2 separate regions of the Homo sapiens genome follow, and region 2 is linked to region 1. The links are contacts of gene promoters, found by promoter capture Hi-C in human tissues and cell types (Jung and others, 2019). All regions are on one chromosome and are shown on one strand. Each heading gives the region's core, a stretch centred on a gene start or on the middle of the fragment in contact. The rest is flanking DNA. Distances are from core to core; before and after follow the strand shown. Region 1 holds the start of KCTD17 (potassium channel tetramerization domain containing 17). Region 2 holds the start of GGA1 (golgi associated, gamma adaptin ear containing, ARF binding protein 1).

The links. The method cuts DNA at HindIII sites, captures the fragments that hold promoters and counts their contacts. A contact is called where the count stands out against the background at its distance.
Region 2: the fragment with the promoter of GGA1 here is called in contact with the fragment with the promoter of KCTD17 in region 1 in 1 of the 25 tissues and cell types used here (dorsolateral prefrontal cortex).

Annotation. Positions count from the first base shown.
Region 1 is chr22:37,050,444-37,053,026 of GRCh38, reverse strand. It overlaps KCTD17 (potassium channel tetramerization domain containing 17), which reads right to left and starts at 1,285. Exons shown (of 9, transcript NM_001282684.2): 1 at 1,078-1,285. The coding sequence starts at 1,266. RefSeq lists enhancers at 1-399, 400-1,117 and silencers at 1,054-1,173, 1,184-1,493. The HindIII fragment of the contact is 12,846 bases long and covers 1-2,583 here.
Region 2 is chr22:37,607,529-37,610,111 of GRCh38, reverse strand. GGA1 (golgi associated, gamma adaptin ear containing, ARF binding protein 1) reads right to left here and starts at 1,278. Exons shown (of 17, transcript NM_013365.5): 1 at 1,209-1,278. The coding sequence starts at 1,251. RefSeq lists enhancers at 449-558, 273-894, 1,499-1,668, 1,819-1,898 and a silencer at 889-1,338. The HindIII fragment of the contact is 29,756 bases long and covers 1-2,583 here.

The DNA.
Region 1 (2,583 bases), core at 36-2,535:
GGGAAGGAGAGTGGAGGGAGAGCTCTTCCCTGGATGGAGCAGGCACAAAGTAGCAAAAAGGCACTGGGGTCAGATGGACCTGAGTTCAAGCCCTGCTTCTGACTCTTCCTGAATGTGTGACCTTAGGCTAATGATTTGGCCTCTTTGAAACTCACTCCTCTCCCCCTAATCAGGGTTTGCTGTGAGCATCCGGTGAGAGGATGTCTGAGTGGCAACTGGCCCAGCACAGGGCTCGAAGAATGTCCCTCTGAGAGGCTGTCCCCTGAAGCCAGCCCCACTGTCGCCCCCAGGTCCCTAGGCTTTCAGGGGATGTTTACAAGTTTCCAAAGGAGTCACTATCTCACTGGACACTCGGGCGGGCAGGGAGGCAGGGTGGGCTTCCATGCGACTCTACAGAGAGATCGGAGACATTGAGAGGTGAGGCGACTTGCCAAAGGCCACAGCATCGGAGGGTCACGGATGGGGGACAGGAGACCTTAGAGGTCATCTTCAGACCAGCCCTTCGTGTTACAGATGAGGAAGGAGGCTGAGCGCAGTGCAGGGAAGGGTCCGACTCAAGGTCGCGGCAGGCAGTGTGCAGCAGAGTCAGGGTGGGTGCTCAGAAATAGTGCCCGCTGGGCCAACGCTCCTTCTAGATTCAGCCCGCTCAGAAGGCGCCCCAGGGCTCCTCCATCCAGCTAGCTCCCTGCACCCCTCCGCCACCCACATCCCAAAGAGCGGGAGAAGTAGCCTCGTCGACTCCTTCCCCAGAGCAGGAGTCCCCTTTGGGAGGGAGGAAAGGTCCCAGGTCTCTCCCTGTCCACAGCCCCAAAGGAGAAGGAGAGGCCCCGATCCGGGGCGGCTGGAGAGCTTCTAATGGCCGCGGCCTGCGTCGTCCCGTTGCCACGGCAATGGGTACATCCCTCACTACCAGACCCACCTCCCCCTCCCCTCCTCCTGCCGCTTCTTCCCGCCTCCAGTTCCTCGGAAATGAACCCGGCCGGGTCCCCAGCCTGGCGGGCGAGCCAGGCCCGACAGCCCCGCGTCGGGCGAGCGGAGGACCCACCGCCCGCTCGCCGCCCACCCCGGGGGCCTCACCCGGTCCGACTGCAGCTCTTCCCCCTGGCACAGGCGGCTGAGGAAGGACTTCTGCTCGCGGCACAGCGTCTGCCGGGTGGTCAGGAACACCGTGCCCCCCACGTTGAGCCGCACCCACTTGCCCCAGCCGCCTGCGGCGCGGCCGCCCGCCCCCGCCGGCGGCGCTGCCTCCCCGGCCTCCATCCTCATCGCCGGCCGCGGCGTCTGCATCCTCCTCCCGGGCGCTGGGGGCGGGCGGGGACCGCACGCGGGGCAGGCCGGGAGCTGTAGTCCGCGCCTCCTGGCTCCGCGTGGGCCGCGGGTAGGGTCCCGCCCCGCGCTGCTCCCGCCCCCGGTCCCGCCCCGCTTCGCCCTTCCCCGCAGGCCCGCAGTCTGGGGTGGTGAAGATGCCCTCTGGCCAAATCACTGTGTATGGGGAAGGTCGAACTCCCGGCCTCTGGGAAAAGAATGAGGGCTTCCCCAAATCTGCAGTCATCCCATGGGTCCGAGCATTCTTGTTTTTCCTTTGTGCCGTCTCCGTCGTCCAACAGCTGATAAGGGAAGAAACTTTCCCCTCCAGGAATCCCCATAGCATTGACCCGCATGTGTTTCGTCATATTTTTTCATTTGCCCTTTGTGTGTATAGGGGTGGGGGCGGGGTGGGTGGGAGTGGGTTCTTTCCCTCACCTGAGTTCTTGGAGAACGACATAGCTGGACTTGAGGTTGGCTGAGCACCTGTATGCCAGACACTTTGTGTATATGTGTTATGAATTTAAGCTCTCAGCAGCCCTGTGAGTCTGGTATTTTGGGCTATACCCATTTTACAGATGAAGCCACAGAAGCGAAGTGACCGCCCTACTCACATTGCTGGTGAGTGAGTACCCACCAAGGTCTCTTTCCTGCTCCCTGACCATGGAATGTCAGGGATCCTTGGGAAAGACTTCTAAGGAGGAAGAGTAGAGCACGCCCTGGATCCGAGTCAGGAGAACTGAGTTTCCATTCTGGCTTTTGGCCTTTCTCAGTTTTTCCACGTCCTCCCTAAGAAGGAGGAGGGATTGGTTCTGCGGGTGGCTTTCTGAGTTATTCCCCAGTTAACTCGGAGGGGAACCGTCATTCTGTGGACCTCAGGATGGGGGAAGGGAGCAGTTCCTCATGTGGTCCGGGACCAGGGAGGGACAAGGGCTGACGAGGAAGCTGTCTCCTTAGCTTCCTCTCCTTACTGGTTTCAGTCCTGGTCCTGGCCTATGGGGGAGAGGTCTGGGGCTCCTCTCACTGATCCAATGTCACACGCAGCTGGCCCGAACACTGGGCAGCCTGGCCCTGTGCTGGGAGAAGTTTCCCTGTTACCACCCAATGCCCTGCTTTCTGCATAAAGCTTTTCTCCTTGGCAGGGAGTGGATCAAAGGTGTACTGGAATCCTGCTACTTAAAATTCACTAGGTGTGTCCTGAGCAACTTCCTCTCTGAGATTGGCTTTCTCTCTTGCCAAATGGGATTTACAACAGTTGTGACCCCAGAGCATTGCTGT
Region 2 (2,583 bases), core at 29-2,528, 560 kb before region 1:
AGATCAGTTAGCCAGGGGCCCACCCATCCCCCCAGCCCAGTTGCTGCTGAGACCCAGGCGGACACTTCCGGCGTTCACAACGGTCAAGGGCTGCTGAGTGCCCCTTTTCCACCCCCTGCCCCTCTGGTGGCTAGGATGACTCTGAAACATCCCTAGAGGTTTGGTTCTGGGGCCAACCTCATGGTTCAACTCTGCTCAAGCCTGGCTTAAAAGGGGCCGGCCATGACCCCAAACCACGCTAGACAGTTGCCGGTGTGCCCGGGTCCAAGAGGGTTCCCTGAGGCCCTGGCAACGACGGGGTCCCAACAGCAGTTAAAGCCTTGGGAGAGAACCCTCACTAGACCAGGGAGAAGCCAGCCACGGCTTTCAGAGGCAGAGTCCAGGAGCGGGGCTGTGAGAGCAGGGGATCATCAGGGCTGTGGGTTAAGGAGCTCAGGTGGAGGGTTTGCGGGCTAGGAAGCCTAAGCAATAGGAAGCTACGTCTGAGGAGAAACAAGAAAAAAAGGGGTGTAGAAGCCTTTGAAGGAAGTTCAGCAAGAGCTGGGAAAGGCATCTTGGAGACTGAGGGGTTAGGCTGAAGGGAGTGACAGGGAGCTTGGAATTATTAATACTTCTGGAGTCTAAGACTCTCCCAAGCCTGTAGGGTGCGGGGGTTTCTCACTATGTGGCTAGAGACTAGGAGCGGCGGGAGGAATCAAATGGGGCAGTGGGTCCTCCCTTCCAGGACGGGGTAATGAGCAAATGTGACTACTTGCGGGCTCCAGGAACGCCATGCAGGGCCAGAGAGTGGAGGATTCGGGGCCTGAAAATAGTAGGGTCCCTCCCTCCCGGGTGTGAGATGCAACCCCGGGGAACCGCTCGCGTGCTCCTTCCCCGGGCCGCTACTCCGTGAAGCAATGTGAGCCTTGGGGGTTGGAGGCTGCTCTCTCCGTCCCGGGGGTTCCCGGCGCAGCTCACTCGCCGTCCCAGGGGTCATGGCCCAGGGATCCGACAGGTGGGCGGCGCCCGCTCCCACCGCTGGACCGCGCCGGGGCCGGGGTCCTCCATCGCTCCAGGGTCTGAGGGGCCGACTGAGGACACCGCCCCTCCCGGGCCGGGGGCGGGGCGTGAGGAGGGGGCGACCCGTACCCCGCCCCCGCCGGGAAGGGGCCCGCCTCGTGCCCCCGGTTCCGGTTCCGGTCCGGCCCGCGCCCCTCCCGGACACTCACTGATTCGCGCCTCCAGAGTCTCCGGCTCCATCGCGGGCTCCATCCGCCACCGGCCCCCAGCCTCGGCACCGCCCCCCCGCCCCCCGCAGCTCTCGCGGGACCTCCTGGGCACCGCCCTCTGCCGATTAAAGGGGCAACGTCCGAACGGGCGCGCTCGGCACCATAGAGAGGCCAACGAGCTCGCCTAGAGCGTCACCTACTCGCCCAACCCCACCCCCACGCGGCGTCTACGTCGCAGCTGGGACCGGCCGCCTGCTTTTCCGTTCCCGGCGCTCAGGCGGGAGAGGAAGTGGAGATACTGCAGGCTAAGGGCAGCACCATGGAAACCCCAAGGGACGCTCTAACTCGTTCTGCGTCACGGAGATGTCTGTGACCGCCTCCGGAAGAATTCTCTGCGGGCATGTTGCTGAGGGGCTCTGAGGCCACTTCCGGAGCCCTGAGCGGGTACTTCCGCTTAGAGTCGAACGTGGGAGAGTCCCTTAAAAGGGCGATAAGCTACATCCTCATGTACCTTGGCCGCTGTGAAAATGACGAAAATAAATCAGTTTCTTGAGTGCTTACAGTATTCTGGGCATTGTCCTAAGCACTATTTGTAATTAATCCATTTAGTTCTGACTCCTTACAACAAACCCACCAGATAATTAGTCGGCCTGAGGCCGCACAAGTAGCAGAGCTTGAACCCTGTGCCGTCTCCTCCATTCATCCAGCCAACGTTTAATGAACTCTTTGTATTTGCTTTGCTCTGTGATGGGCACAGAAGGAGATAGACAAGGCCAGATATTTATTACAGTGTGATAGGGGAAGCCCACGGGGTAGTGGGAACAAAGGAGGGGGCTCCTCCCCCAAACTGGGGTGGGGTGGGTGGGGGTGTTGTCAGGGGAGGGGTCGTGTCAGGGGAGGGGTCGTGTCAGGGGAGGTTTCAAGAGAAAGTGATACTGTACTTCGCTCAAAGACAGTCGGATTTCTCCACGTAGAGCTGGTGCGAAAAGATATTCAGGGAGAAAAAGTAGGATGAAGGCCGAGGAGGGCGGATCACGAGGTCAGGAGATCGAAACCATCCTAACACGGTGAAACCCCGTCTCTACTAAAAAAAAAAAAAAAAAAAAATTATCTGGGCGCGCCTTTAGTGCCAGCTACTTAGAAGGCTGAGGCAGAAGAATCGCTTGAACCCGGGAGGTGAAGGTTGCAGTGAGCCGAGATTGCGTCACTGCACTCCAGCCTGGGCGGCATAGCGAGACTCAGTCTCAAAAAAAAAAAAAAAAAAAAAAGTAGGATGAGTCCAGGGAGTTGGAAGTATTTCAATACGGCTCCCAGATATCTGCAAATAGATATCTATTTGCAGGAGATATCTTGGAATTAGGCTGGGGCAAGATCA